Linked DNA regions of Homo sapiens: regions 2 and 3 are each linked to region 1. Evidence: promoter capture Hi-C in human tissues and cell types (Jung and others, 2019). All regions are on one chromosome and are shown on one strand. Each heading gives the region's core, a stretch centred on a gene start or on the middle of the fragment in contact. The rest is flanking DNA. Distances are from core to core; before and after follow the strand shown.

What was found. Contacts are between HindIII fragments. The study calls those that stand out against the background at their distance.
Region 2: a contact is called between a fragment that was not itself captured here and the fragment with the promoter of ABAT in region 1, in 1 of the 25 tissues and cell types used here (mesenchymal stem cells).
Region 3: a contact is called between a fragment that was not itself captured here and the fragment with the promoter of ABAT in region 1, in 1 of the 25 tissues and cell types used here (lymphoblastoid cells).

Annotation. Positions count from the first base shown.
Region 1 is chr16:8,672,570-8,677,699 of GRCh38, forward strand. It overlaps ABAT (4-aminobutyrate aminotransferase), which reads left to right and starts at 2,048. Exons shown (of 16, transcript NM_020686.6): 1 at 2,048-2,142. RefSeq lists enhancers at 1,045-1,546, 1,547-2,046 and a silencer at 1,641-2,100. The HindIII fragment of the contact is 24,430 bases long and covers 1-5,130 here.
Region 2 is chr16:10,502,370-10,507,499 of GRCh38, forward strand. No RefSeq gene overlaps it. Among named protein-coding and RNA genes, the nearest start is that of LINC01290, 23 kb to the right of the region's middle. RefSeq lists an enhancer at 1,577-2,384. The HindIII fragment of the contact is 3,947 bases long and covers 595-4,541 here.
Region 3 is chr16:10,216,543-10,221,672 of GRCh38, forward strand. LOC107984900 (a long non-coding RNA gene) reads right to left here and starts at 618. Exons shown (of 3, transcript XR_001752076.3): 1 at 547-618. The HindIII fragment of the contact is 4,714 bases long and covers 712-5,130 here.

The sequences.
Region 1 (5,130 bases), core at 798-3,297:
TCAATATTTCATACCTATGTTTATTGTTCAATTTCATGCAACAATTTCCCTCTGAGTCCCTGCTGTTGTGCATTCAAGTTGTTCCCAGTTTTTCCCTGTGATAAACAAAATGGTAGTAAGCTACTTTATCATTAAATCTTTGTACCTTTAAATGTTTTCAGATAAGTTCATAGGGATTGGATTGCTAGATCAAAGGGTCAACTTACTTTTAAGATTTTTAAAATAGAAATACCCAATTTCCCTCCAGAAAGGCTGTGATCTTTCTACTGCCATCATCAATACATGAAACTCCTTGAAGTCTTTGCAAAGAATAGTAATTATAATAATAAAAACAAGGTCATTTTGGTAGGTAAACTCTTTCCCTCTTTTGGTTTTAACTTGCCTTTCCTTTTCAAAGTGTCATCTCCCATGTTTATTGGCCGTTGTATTTCTTTGGGCAGGTCAAGGGTAGTAAAGGGGATTATGTTCATGGCTTTGGTTTTAAGAAAAAATTGCTAGATTTTCAGCACAGGCCTCATCAAGTTCCTCAAGCAAGGTGACAATCACCCAGGCTAGAGTGCAGTGGTGCCATCTCACCTCAGTGCAACCACTGCCTCTCCATTCAAGCGATTCTCATGTCTCAGCCTCCCAGGTAGCTGGGATTACAGGCAGGTGCCACCATGCCAGGCTAATTTTTGTATTTTTAATAGAAAGGGGGTTTCCCCATGATGGCCAGGCTGGTCTCGAGCTCTGGGCATCAAGTGATCTGCCTGCCTCGGCCTCCCAAAGTGCTGGAATTACAGGCGTAAGCCACTGTGCCAGGCCTCAATTATTCTTATTTACTGCTCTGTGTGTGTGTGTGTGTGTGTGTGTGTGTGTGTGTGTGTGTGTTGGGGGGGAGGGTCCCCAGAGGTGACACTAGGAGGTGAATGATTTGTTTGGCAGCTTTCTATTTATCTATGTGTTTACTTTATCTTAATTCTTTAATTGCAAGGACTATAGCGCTTGTGTAATCAGAGATAGGGCAGCCTGGATTCCTGGACAGCAGGAGGAGAGACCTCAGGGTTCTACAAGACTCCACAGACCAAGTTATCAGTGATCAGGGTGAGTGGGGAGAACCAAGCTGAACTCTTTCTCTGCCTTTAAGGTCTGTACTCTCCATCCATCCATTCATTCATTATGAGGACTTGGTGATCGCCTGTTGTCTTGATGAGCAGTTCTTTGTGTCTTTGATTTTGTCACTGAAAGATTGCATCCTCTTTCCAAATACCTCTAGAAAGCTGTGGGGGGGCTATCCATCCGTCACACCTGAGTATTAATTATCTTCCACACAGCATTTTATACAACGGTAGAAAGGCACCTTCATCATATCTAGGGTCTCGTTTATACCCACGAAGGAGGTACAATCTCTGTTGTCCCAATTTCAGGAAATTGAGGATCAGGAGGCGCAGTGACCTGCTCCAGGTCATGCAGAAGGAACCACCTCTGACTCCCAGCGCCCTGTTTGTCTTCCGGAGCGCTGGGGCCAGGCGGAGGAAAGTAGCTGGGAGCAAGAAGGGCTGGCAGGGCCCTGAGCGCCGAGATGGGGAGTGAGGTGGGGAGGGCGGGATGCTCCTTCCCTTCTCCGCAAAGGAACCCCTTCTGATTCCGACTCTGGAGCTCCAGAGACCGGATCCGAGACGCGGGTGGAGGTGGAGTTACACTCGCCTGCAGCCCTGAGGGTGTAAATGGCCCATTAAGATCCAGGTTAAATCAACCTATGGAGCTGCCCCCCAGAGGGTCAGGGTCCCCACAACTTGACGGGGGTCCTCAGCCGTCTCCTCCCCAGTCCCAGGACTCCCTCCCAGCCCTCGCGGTCCCTCTGGTGGGTCCCGCCCCAGCCCCCGTCTCCCCCGCCCCCGGAGGCTGGACTCTGCCCCCGCCCCGCCTGCCACCTCCCTCCTGGGGGCGGTGGCCCGTGGCGGGCGCACCCATTGGCTGTGGCGAAAGCGAGGGCCGGGGCTGGCGGCGCTGATTGGCCGGGACGCTCGGCGGAGCCAGGGAGTCCGGCGAGTCGCTGGGGGAAGTCGAGCAGACACCCAGCGCTGCCGGAACTCGGGGCGCGCATCCCGCAAGTCGGAACCCGGCGGATCGGATCCCGCAGATCGGAGACGGGGCCTGGAGGTGAGCGCGAGGCGCCGGGTGGCTTGGGACGGGCCCTTCCGAGGGGAGCCGAGAGGAGGTCCTTCTGCCCTGCCCCCAGGAGCAAAACCTGGGCATCTTCTCCTGGAAACGGAGCCCTCATCTTCCCAAGACGCGGGGCCCTCCCCCGAAAAGACAGGGGCTCCCACCCCCCAGAGAGCAAAATACCTTCCTTTCTCCTTCAGAAATGGGCCCTTCCTCCTGGCTCCAGCTCTAGACAGAAGTCCTCTCCCTTTTACCGCTTGAAATAGAATGCGGCCCCAAAAAGTGGTCTCCAGGTCTCTAGAGCCCCCTCACCTCTTGGGAGACTGATGCCCCTTCCCCATCCTTAGAAAACTAAGTTTGGGTGTCTTCCTTCTCCCCTCTCTTTCGGAATAATGGGGGTCTTCTCAGCTTATAAATTACAGTGACCTCCCCCTCCATGACAAATGGAAGCTCTCCCCCCATCATAAGACAAGGAAATCCCGGAGCAGAGACTCTGCAAGTCACCCTCCCACCCCAGATACTGGGCTCTGGAGAGATAGATGATTCACCCTTAGCCCTGCCGGAGACCCCTCCCTACCCGTCAGAGAGGCAGGGTGGCCTCTGACACCACCACATTAAAGGCTTTTGGGGATTTCCCCTCTCCTCCCCAGTAAAGATGTAAAATGAGGGACCTTCATACTCAGGAGCAGGGCAAAGGTCTGGCCACCCCTCCAAGTCATCCACCTCCCTCCACTCCACCCAAGCCCTTTCACACAAACCCCATCCTAGTAACCCCCTGCACCATCCTCCCACCGCTCCCAATCCCATCCTTCTCCACCTCACCCCAACTCCACTCCCACACCTGGCTGCCCCACCTATTTCACATCCTCTCACCTTTCCTCACCCACCCTGGCCAAGGTAAGACTAGAGGGGGTTCAGCGAGATTTAGTAAGACTGGAGCTCTTAAAACTGGGATCTGGGGCCTAGAGGCCCTTCCAGGAGTCTTCAAACTCTGACAACAGAGATGGCCTCTGAGGCAGCAGGACCAGCAGAGACCACCCGCCACCTCTCCCCCGCTCCCTGCCCCAACACACGCACAAAGGCTGTGTTCAATGCATTCTCTCTTGCAGTCTGGGAGGACAGCTGGCCCTCTTCCAAGAGGGCCCGCATTTCCCCCCTAAAGTGTGCACCCCCGCAAGCGCCTGTGGACATTGCCTGGTGGAATTCCCTGGGCACTCAGCCAAGAGAAATGGGTGCTGCTGGGCCCATCCACTGGGGAGGAGACAGTGTTGGCTTTGCTGCTTTGATGAAGCTAGACTAAGGGACAGGATGTTGGTGACCTGGGGGTGGGGAGGGGGTGGGAAGAGCTCTTCTCTGGTGGGTCAGGTTGGGAGGCAGGAGAGAGGGAGGCAGTGAGTTGTGTCTTGCTCTTTGGAGCCTGTGTTGCGGCGTGGAGTCATAGAGAAATGTGTTTTCTCGAGGCCCAAAGAGGTTAGCCACGGGGAGAGGTAAATGGTCCAGTCTGGAGTCCTAAGACCTAAAAGGGCTTCTGCATTAAAGACGTGGCCCCTTCATTTGACAGTTAAACACACAGAGGCACAAAAGGGGAAGAGACTTGCTCAAGGTCACCCAGCCTGTGGGAGACAGCTGGCCCCAACCCCTCCAGGACCCTTAAGGTGCTAGGATCCCTGACACAAGCCCCAGTCCTCACATTTACAATGGGGACTTGGGGACTGCTGGGTCCCAAGTCCCCACTTGTCAGAGGAAGCGCCAAGGCTCTGCAAAGGTCATGAAGCCAGGAAGGGGCAGAGCTGGAACTCAATGCCATCCCCCAGCAGGCTGCCTCGTGGAATCCATTCCTGGGTGTCAGCGCATCCCTGCTTACCCCGTGCGATCTTTGTGTTGAGGCCATTGCCAAATCTAGGCTTGCCAAAATCCAAACTGACCCAGGATAGCTAATAAGATCAGTTGCAGCTAATGAGAATGAGATGCTGGAGTGGAGGCTACTGCAGGAACCTCACTTGCATAGCTGGGTTTGCTCCAAGAACTTTGGACAGGTCCTGAGGATGTCATATTCCTTCCCTCCAAGGTCCCCTCCCTCTTAGCCCCTGCCCACGCCCTCTGGCTTTGAGTTCCCTGCACATTGTCTCATCTCTGTTCAGAGGCCTGCGTCTTTTCTCCTGGGGCATTGCATGGGAAAAGAGCTGAAATTCTGGCAGATTCTCTAGGACCACCCAGCTGGGCAGCATGGTCTGAAGTAGAGGCTCTCTCTGTTTCTGCCCCCACCCAGTTCCCAGCTAAAGGATTGGTTGTTGTGCCCCAACTTTGCCAAGGCGAAGTTCAAAGCATGAGGAGGACCACGGTAGAGAGGCCGAGAGGTTGGTCCCTGGAGACCTCTTATCTGGGTCGAGAGCACAAATCTGCCACTTAGTGTCTGATCTTAACCTCTCTGTGACATATCCTTGGGGTAAAATGAGTTAATCCTCATAAAATGTTTAGCACACAGCAAAATGAGCAGAAACAATGATTACAAGTGCAAAGTCATAAAACCTCTAATCATGAAGTGGGGAGGTGCTTATGCCTTAAGGCAAAACTTGTAACCCTTGCCGTAGATAATCTGCCAGGGCCAAGGTGCCTGGGGACAAGGGGATGTCTTCCTAGAGAGACAGTGTAGTATGTGGAATGGACCACAGACCCTGAAGCCAGATGGAGTAGAGAGTTGGCCACTGGTAGTGGCTGTCTATGGAAACTTAGGCAAGTCATTCATGTCTCTGAACCTCAGTTCCTCGTCTTTGAATGAGGTTTGTTGGGGTTGGACATCAGAAAAGAGACAGGTCTAGATGAGGGGTTCTCATTTTGGGCACTGTTGACAGTTGGGTCAGAGGATTCTTTGTTGTGGGACTCCCCTGTGTATTGTAGGATATTCAGCAGCGCCTCTGGTCTCTACCCACTAGATGCCAGTGACACTCCCTACCCCATGAGTCATGTCCATCAGAAATGTCTGCA
Region 2 (5,130 bases), core at 1,318-3,817, 1.8 Mb after region 1:
GAGACCTACTGGGCTGCATTCCCAGGAGGTTAAGGCACTCTTAGTCACAGGATGAGATAGGTCAGCACAAGATACAGGTCACAAAGACCTGGCTGTTAAAACAGCATGCACTAGGGCCAGGCGCGGTGGCTCACACCTGTAATCCCAGCACTTCTGGAGGCCGAGGCGGGCGGATCACGACGTCAGAGGATCGAGACCATCCTGGCTAACACGGTGAAACCCCGTCTCTACTAAAAATACAAAATATTAGCCGGGCGAGGTGGCGGGCGCCTGTAGTCCCAGCTACTCGGGAGGCTGAGGCAGGAGAATGGCGTGAACCCAGAGGGGCAGAGCCTGCAGTGAGCCGAGATCGCGCCACAGCACTCCAGCCTGGGCGAGAGCGAGACTTGGTCTCCAAAAAAAGAAAAAAAAAAAAACAAAAACAAAAAGCAGCATGCGTTAAAGAAGCTGGCCAAAACCCCACCAGAAACAAGAGGACCACGAAAGTGGCCTCTGGTCACCCTCATCACTCATTATACGCTAATTATAACACATTAGCATGCTAAAAGACACTCCACCAACACCGTGACAGTTTACAAATGCCATGGCAACGCCAAGGAATTACCCTATATGGTCTAAAAGGGGAAGGAACCCTCAGTTTCAGGAATTCCCAGAAAACTCATGAATAATCTACCCCTTGTTTAGCATATAATTGAGAAATAACTGTAAGTATTCCCATTTGACCAACCCATGCCACTGCTCTGCCTATGGAGTAGTCTTTTTTTTTTTTTTTTTAAATTGAGACAGAGTCTCGCTCTGTCACCCAGGCTGGAGTGCGGGGGTGTGATCTCAGCTCACTGAAACCTCTGCCTCCCGGGTTCAAGCAATTCTTCTGTCTCAGCCTCCCGAGTAGCTGGGACTACAGGTGCCTGCCACCATGCCTGGCTAATTTTTGTATTTTTAGTAGAGATGGGGTTTCACCATATTGGCCAGGCTGGTCTCAACCTCCTCACCTTGTGATCCACCGGCCTCGGCCTCCTAAAGTGCTGGGATTACAGGTGTGAGCCACCGCGCCCAGCCAGAGTAGTCATCTTTCATTCCTTTATTTCTCTAATAAACTTGCTCTCACTTCTTTTTCACACGAGGTCCAAGAACCCTCTCTTGGGGTCTGGATTGGGACCCCTTTCCAGTGACATCCGCTCTAGACTAATCTTATGTCCTGTGGTTGATGAATCGGGAATCTCTGGTGAATAGGAAAAATTGTTGGATTGGGAGGAGATTCTGGTTTCTGGTTTCCCTGGCTCTCATTTAATATGTAACCCTGAGTAGGTAGCTTTCCCTTCCTAAATCAGTTTCCTCAACTATAATGAGAGGATTTAGATCTCCAAAGTCTCTTTTAGTTCAGACTCTCAAAAAAATCCAAAACACACAGCCAGGCGCAGTGGCTCACGAAGTCAGGAGATCGAGACCATTCTGGCCAACATGGTGAAACCCCATCTTTACTAAAAATACAAAAATTAGCCAGGCATGCGTGGTCATGGACACCTCTAGTCCCAGCTACTCAGGAGGCTGAGGCAGGAGAATTGCTTGAAACTGGGAGGCGGAGGTTGCAGCAGTGAGCCGACATCGCACCACTGCACTCCAGCCTGGGTGACAGAGCAAGACTCCATCTCAAAAAAAAAAAAAAATCCAAAACACACAAGTTATATCAGAGCTGGAAGAATCTGGGAACTCTTACTTTGGGAGATTTGGGTGAGGTTCTTATGGTCTCCTTCACAGTTTGTTTATTTCAGTTCAATCTGATAGATTCTACCCTCAGACTCTATTTATAGTGATTACTGTGTGAAAGGAAAATACATCTCGGGACCCCAAAAATCACTAAGCAAAAGGGAAAAGTCAAGCTGGGAACTATGTCAGGCAAACCTGCCTCCCATTTTATTCCTAAATAACATAGCTACAAAGGTTTGACAACAACAGCAAAAAAAAAAAAAAAAAAAAGCTGCATACCTCCCTCACAAGTTTCCCAGAAGGAAATTCCTTGTGGACAAGGGACAGACAGAACTCAAAGTCTTCCTTCTGCTCACTTGAGACAAATGCCTATCTGATTGCTTCCTCTGCCCTATTGTTTCACTAAACCAGACTAAGGCCTAAGTGACTATTCCTCTACCCTCCTCTCACATGTAAATTGCATATTCAGTGGGAGGCTAATCAGAGACTCAAAGGAATGCACCCCTTGTCTCTCATCTACCTATGACCTGGAAATTCCCACCCTACACCCAGTTGTCCCAATGTCAGAGATGATAAATTAATCTTCAAAAAGCTTTAGTTCTCTGTTCTTTGTTTCTTATGACCAACTTCCTTGTACTTCCTTGTCTCCTAGCTACCTGTTCTGTAAACAACCTTCTCGCCTTTGCGGTGCTTAGATAGACAAGTCCTTCTGGCCTAGTAAAGGACAGTCCCTCTTCCTTCCCATCTAATAGACCCTATTCAGTTTAAACCTTAGCTTAGATTGTGAAGTCCAACCTCAGCCAATGGGGAAAGGACACAGAAGTGCTAGGAACTGCGTTAGGGATAAAACCCCTGCCCTCCCCCGCTCAGTGTGCTCTTGCAGTCATGACTGGTGCAAGCTGCACCTTTCTGCAGAAGTAAATTTGGCTTGCTGAGAAATCTTTTGTTTGAGTGCTCATTTTCTTTATGACTCTGAGCTCTTATTTCTAACACCACCTTTCCAGGCCAAACCAATGTACATCGTACACATATTGATTGATGTCTCATATCTCCCTAAAATGTATAAATCCAAGCTGTGCCCCAACCACAGTAGGCACGTGTCATCTGGACTTCCTAATGTTAGAGGTGTGTGAACCAGAGCAACTCCATCTTCATAGGGGCTGGGTGAAATAAGGCTGAGACCTTCTGGGCTGCATTCACAGACTAAGTCGTTCTAAGTCACAGGACAACACAGGAGATCAGCACAAGATACAGGTCATAAAGACCTTGCTGTTAAAACAGATTGCAGGAAAGAAGCCGGCTAAAACCCAACAAAACCAAGATGGCTACAAGAGTGACCTCTGGTCATCCTCATTGCTACACTCCCACCAGTGCCGTGAGAGCTTACAAATGCCATGGAAATGTCAGCAAGTTACTGTCAGGCCTCTGAGCCCAAACCTGCATGTATTCATCCAGATGGCCTGAAGAATCACAAAAGAAGTGAAAATGGCCTGTTCCTACCTTAACTGACAATATTACCTTGTGAAATTCCTTCTCCTGGCTCATCCTGGCTCAAAAGCTCCCCCACTGAGCACCTTGTGACCCCCACCCCTGCCAGCCAGAGAACAACCCCCTTTGACTGTAATTTTCCACTACCTACCCAAATCCTATAAAACAGCCCCACCTCTATCTCCCTTCGCTTCAGCCCACCTGCACCCAGGTGATTAAAAAGCTTTATTGCTCACACAAAGCCTGTGTGGTGGTCTCTGCACACAGACACGCATGAAAGTTACCCTATATGGTCTAAAAAAGGGGAGGCATGAATAATCCACCCCTTGTTTAGCATATAATCAAGAAATAACCATAAAAATGGGCAACCAGACAGGTGCAGTGGCTCATGCCTGTAATCCCAGCACTTTGGGAGGTCGAGGCGGGTGGGTCACCTGAGGTCAGGAGTTTGAGACCAGCTTGGCCAATATGGTGAAACCCCGTTTCTACTAAAAATACAAAAATTAGCTGGGTATGATGGCATATGTGCCTGTAGTCCCAGCTACTTGGGAAGCTGAGGCAGGAGAATCGTGCCATTGCAGTCCAGCCTGGGTGACAGAGCAAGACTCTGTCTCAAAAAAAAAAAAGGGGGGGCAACCAGCAGCCATCAGGGTTGTTCTGTCTATGGAGTAGCCATTCTTTTATTCCCTTACTTTCCTAATAAACTTGCTTTTACTTTAATCTGTGGACTCACCCTGAATTCTTTCTTGTGTGGAGTCCAAGAACCCTCTCTTGGGGTCTGGATCGGGACCGCTTTCCTGTAACACCGAGGCTGTGTGTCACAGGAATATCCTTAACCTTGGCAAAACACACTTTCTAAATCGATTGAGATCTGTCTTTCATACTTTTGGGTTCACAACTGAAATGTGCAGTGAGACTTATTTTATACCATATTATTTTGTGTATTTTCTTTGTTTATTATCCTTTTTGTTTGCTTATTTTTCTCCTTCTATTCCTTCTGTTGAAACGTTTCCTTTCTTCCTTCTTCCTTCTGCTTGTTTACAGTAATTTCATTGTTTTTCTGTTCTTTCAGTGACTTCCCTCAAATGTCAACATACATTACTTTTTTTTTTTTTTTTTTCGAGACAGAGTCTTCCTCTGTCACCCAGGCTGGAGTGCAGTGGTGCGAGCTTGGCTCACTGCAACCTCTGCCTCCCAGGTTCAAGCGATTCTCCTGCTTCAGCCTCTGGAGTAGCTGGGATTACAGGCATGTGCCTCCATGCCCGGCTAATTTTGTATTTTTTAGTAGAGACGGGGTCTCTCCATGTTGGTCAGGCTGGTCTCGAACTCCCGACCTCAGGTGATCCGCCCGCCTCGGTCTCCCAAAGTGCTGGGATTACAGGCGTGAGCCACCATGCCCGGCCAACAATTTTCAACTCGTGTCAACCTTGTGTCATCTAAACCCTGTATACCTTCTCAGCTCCCATCAGGCACTGAATTATTATGATGCAGATCTGTGATATGTCATTTTATTCATAATGTTTTAATATCAACATACATTCAAAACCTTTTTTCCCAACAAAGTCTAATCCATATCTCTGACATCCTTCCAATCAAGAAAAGGATCTTACAAGAAAATGCCTTAACTACAGGTTGCCTACCCCAGATAAACACCTACTGCCTGATTGATTGATTGAGACAGAGTTTTCCGCTCTTGTTGCCCAGGCTGGAGTGCAGTGGTGCAATCTTGGCTCACTGCAACCTCTGCCTCCCGGGTTCAAGCAATTCTCCTGCCTCAGCCTCCTGCACAGCTTGGATTACAGGCATGTGTCACCATGCCCAGCTAATTTTTTGTATTTAGTAGAGACGGGATTTTACCATGTTGGTCAGGCTGGTCTCGAACTCTTGACCTCAGGTAATCCACCCGCCTCAGCCTCCCAAAGTGCTGGGATTACA
Region 3 (5,130 bases), core at 1,819-4,318, 1.5 Mb after region 1:
AGAGAGAATAAATGGTGTTGGAACCCGCAAGAGATCAGAGGCGAGGAGGAAGCGACACTCTCTAAGGGACTGGTATTTAAGTTGAGAGCTGTAGGAAGGACTGATTAACATAGAAGAAGGGGAAGGGGGAGGGAACAGCATGTGCAAAGGCCCTGAGGAGGGATTGCTTGGCAAGTTAAAGAAAAGTGACTGGAGGCCGGTGTGGCTGGATGTGGCAGGTGTGGGCAAGAGTGGTAGCAGATGTGAGGTTGGAATGGCAGAAGAGCGTTGTGCAGGGCCCTGCAGCCACAGCAAGGAATTTGGAACTTATTCCAGATGTGATGATCTCATGGGTTGACTTCTCCAAAAGCAGAGCCTGAGACAGGATTTGGGTGCAGGTGGTTGATTTGGAAGTTGATTTCTGGAAGCAGGAACAAGGAAAGGAAAAGATTTAGGAGACAAACCAATATACATGTCCATCATCAAGGTCACCACTGAGAACAACAGAAGCTCTGTGCTGCAAGGACCTCGCGAAAAGCATGCAGGAAGCCTCCTGGAATTTTCTACCTGAAGGAGGGATAGTGGCACATTTATCTTGATGATCGCCTCCCGGGCTGTTAACTCAGTACTTCTGGGCTAGACTTTTGCACAGACTAAGCAGGTTTCAACAGCATCCAAGAAGACCTGAAGGCAGAAAGCAGAAAGACTCAAGGCACACTCTTGAGGTGGAGTGAGAAGTTACTATCAGCGGCCGGGCGCAGTGGCTCATGCCTGTAATCCCAGCACTTTGGGAGACTAAAATGGGTGGATCACCTGAGGTTAGGAGTTCGAGACAAGCCTGGCCAACATGGTGAAATCCTGTCTCTACTAAAAATACAAAAATTAGCCTGGTATGGTGGCACATGCCTGTAATCCCAGCTACTCAGGAGGCTGAGGCAGGAGAATCGCTTGAACCTGGAACGCAGAGGTTGCAATGAGCCGAAATCATGCCATTGCACTCCAGCCTGGGTGGCAAGAGTGAAACTCCATCTCCATCTCAAAAAAAAAAAAAAAAAAAAAAGAGGAAGAAGAAGTTAATATCAACACAGAGGAGGAGCATGGGGGCAAGACATAGGCATGGGGTGCCTCTGCCACCAATGGGGAGCCTAAGACAGTCTTTAAGTGGGAGAGGGCCATCTGATTGCACCTTAGATGCTGTCTGCCCTGTTGTGCACACAAAGGGAACAAGAACCTTGAATGTGTCAAGTACCTACTCCATGCACCAATACTGGGAGCTTTATACACAGTATCTTTAATTATTCACAGTAGGAGTGATTATCTCCAACCGTCATGATCAGGGGTTTCAGGTGGTCCTAGTTGACAAGTTTCCCCAGGGGTAACTTCTCTCCTTCCATTTGATCCATGCCAAAGATGAGTCTTAGCACATAAGTCTGATGCTTAAGGAGCTTATTCTGGCATCTTCTTATGAGACAGACAGTGGGAGCAGGAGGCTGGTGGCATGGCCAGACACAGCCAGGGGTCAGATGACGGACTGACCGGGAGGGTGTCCATCCAGAGACCATTATCAAAGTTTGAGGGATCCTTCCCCCTTCCTTCTATCCATATTCAGTCCAGGTCCCTTACCAGGTGTTTCTTACATAAAAGGAGTTTAAGCTATTCTTGTGAGGATAAGCTTTATTTTAAGATTTATGAAAGTTATATCTGTGCCGATTTAACTTTGTCTCCTGGAAATCCCGGGGCCAGGCTGCATCATACTAAGTGACAGGTAGTGTCAGCCCCGCAAGATGCTCGGATGGGTTTTATGGCTACCATTAATCTTATAGCCACCAGATGTCTTTTATCGTATACTACACCAGCTTACAGATGTGGAAACTGAGGCTCAGAGGACTGCACTAATTTGCAGGTCTCACAGGGAGTAATGGAGCCAGGAGCTCCTACCAGCCCTTAATGCTCTTGTCTGCAGCTGCAGCAAGATCGGGGGCGGGGGGCCACTGTGTTCTTATCTGGGATTCTTCACTCAGCATGGGTCTTCTCTGGCTCAGGTGGTGCCAAGAAGCAGTTCTGGAGAGACCTGGGCCCCTGCATTTTGACTTTCTGCCCCTGCAGGTGTTCGCCTCCCCCACATGCAGAACTGTGCCGCCATGAAGGCTAATTATAAGTGCCGGGTATTTATAGTGAGTTTCTCCACCCAGTGCTTCCAGCACCTCGAGGGAACTATTTACAGAATCCTCCCAGCACCTCGGAGAGAAAGGCAGAGCCGAGCAGGGGAAACTGAGGTGAAGCGACGGGGCGACATCTCCCTTGTTAAGGACCCTCAGCCAAGGAAGGCTTGCAGGGCGTCCTCACAGCAAGCACTGGGATTTGATTAGACAGCTGTCAGAGAGAGTAAGAGGAAACCCATGAACGCACACTTCCCAGATGTCTGGCAGCCACAGACTGGGCCATTTCCAAGCACCAGCTCATTTCATCTCTGTGCCTCGATTTTCCAATCTGCAAAATGGGGCTGTGAGGCTATGCCTCATAGACTTGTGAGATTTAAATGAGTTTAAACAGGTCAAGGAGAGAGCCTGGAAGGAGTAAGCTTCAAAAAATGCTATTAACTATTTATTATTTTTTTTATCGCCTTTACATCTAATCTAATAAAGTAGGCAAACATTATCCATTGGGCTTGTTGAAAAATGAAAATAATAATTACATTTTTAATCATTTCCTCTATAGTGCATAGTTAGGCTGCAAGACTATGTCAGAACCAAATTTATTTTTTGCTACACTGATGTGTTGCACTGTGCTAAAGTCAGGGCCTTCAGTACGTCCATCACTGGAGCCACACGCATTATACCCACCAGGCAACCACCTATTGCCTGCGCACCTGACCTCCTCCACACCTCCAAGTCTCCACCGTCCATCACCCCACACTCTGCTTCCATGTGTACATATTATTTAGCCCCTGCTTACAAGTGAGAACATACAAGCATTTGTCTTTCTGTGTCTGAGATGTTTCATTTATGATCATGGCCTCCAGTTCCATCCGTGTTGCTACAAAAAAATTTTCATTCATGTTTACGGCTGAATAGTATTCCATTGCGTGTGTATTTATATAGGTATATATACTACATTTTATTTATCCTGTCCTCCATTGATGGCCTCTCAGGTTGATTCCATATCTTTGCTGTTCTGAATAGTGCTGTGGTTAAACATATGGGTGCAGGTATCTTTTTGTATAATGATTCAGGAAACAAAATGAAAAAGGGAAAGGCAGGTGGGTTGTCTCCACCCAGATCAGAGGGAAAAGGGGAGAAAGGGAACGGGAGGGAAGGGGAAGGAAATGCAAGGGGAAGGAAAGGAAAGGGAAAGAAAGGGGAAGAAAAGGGAAGGAAGGAGATGCGAGATCAGGGGAAGGTAAGCAGGGGCACATATCACCTTGTTTCTGGTTCTCTGCTCCTGGTCAAAGTTCAGCGATCCACAGAGCAAGCCATAAGTGAAAACAGGAAATTATGATAAGATCTTTAGGGCTGCTGCACACACACACACTGCCCACCTCCTAACAGGGGCCAAGCCAAGTGCTAACCACAGGTCATCCAAGTTTTCTGCGTTCAGCAAGATTCCAGTGCCTAAACCATAGAATCCTGGAGATCCTCCCCAAAAAAGCGCAAAATGGAACAATAATTTCTCACCTTGGAGAGACACAGTGAGGATAGCATGAACAAGTGTGTACAGAGTTCCTAGCACATGAAAGGGCCTCAATAAAATAGTCACTATTATTAGAATCCTGGGTTTTCTTTATTATTTATTTTTTAACCAGTGTATGAGTCCATTCTCACATTGCTATAAAGAACTACCTTAGACTGGGTAATTTATAAGGAAAAGAGGTTTGATTGGCTCACAGTTCTGCAGGCTATACAAGAAGTATGGCTGGGGAGGCCTCAGGAAACTTACAATCATAGCAGAAGGTGAAGAGGAAGGAGGCATGGCTTACACGGCCAGAGAAGAAGGAAGAGAGAAGGGGGTAGGTGCCACACACTTTTAAATAAGCAGATCTTATGAGAACTCACTCACTATCCTGAGAACAGCAAGGAGGAAATCTACCCCCATGATCCAGTCACCTCCCACCAAGCCCCTCCTCCAACGCTGGGGATTACAATTTGACATGAGATTTGAGCAGGGACACAGAGCCAAACCATATCAACCAGTCCTTAATATTTTTTATGTGTTAAAATTACAACATGCTTGACATTAAAAACAATTCAAACTTTAAGGAAGAATAAAGACAGGGGAAAAGCCTCTTCCTCTCTCCTGTCTCTCCACCCAAATTGTTGTTGTTGCTATTGTTTTTATTTTCTTGGTAGGAGCAAAAGTCCTCAATCCAGAAAGTCAAGAGACCTGAATCCTCTCCCAGGATGGCCAGCAACCCTCTGTGTGACCCTGGCCAAGTCATTTTCACTCCCTGTGAAGTTTCCTCTTCTGGGAGGATAGACCAGACGAGCTGTTCTCAAACTCTACTGCACATTAAAATCATCCAGGAGATCTAAAAAACTCCAGCACCCAGCTGGCACCCCCAGGCCAATGAATCTTCGGTAGGACCCAGGCTTCAATATATTTTCAAAGCTCTCTGTGGTTTCAACGAACAGCCATGGTGGCAGGAAACTACCCCCTCTCCTCCCAGGTCCTTCTCAAACTTCACTGTAGGCACAGATCATCCTGGTCTGTGCTAAGATGTAGACCCTGGCTCAGGCAGAGATTGGACATTTCTAGCAAGCTGCCAGGTTCTCTTGCTGCTGGTCCAGGAAAAGGGACTAGACCATTGGTTGAAAAGCTTTTGTTAGCTTTGCAATACTTTCTACAAAGGAAATATTGCATGGAAACAGATACTTAACAAAACTGCTCTGATTAAAGTCAGGGTTCAGAAAGGATGGGACAACCGGAGTCTCAGACTCAGATTCACCCCGAAATCCGTGAATTGGGCAGAATTACAACTCCATCAGAGACATCGTGTCCTGATCCCACAACCTTGTGAACATGTTCCGTTACCTGGCAAAGGGGAATTATGTCTTCAGAGGAAATTAAGGCTGTTAATCAGCTAACCTTAAAATAAGATTATCTGGGTGGGCTTAATCTAATCAGAAGAGGTTGTTAAAAGTGGAAGAGAGTGGC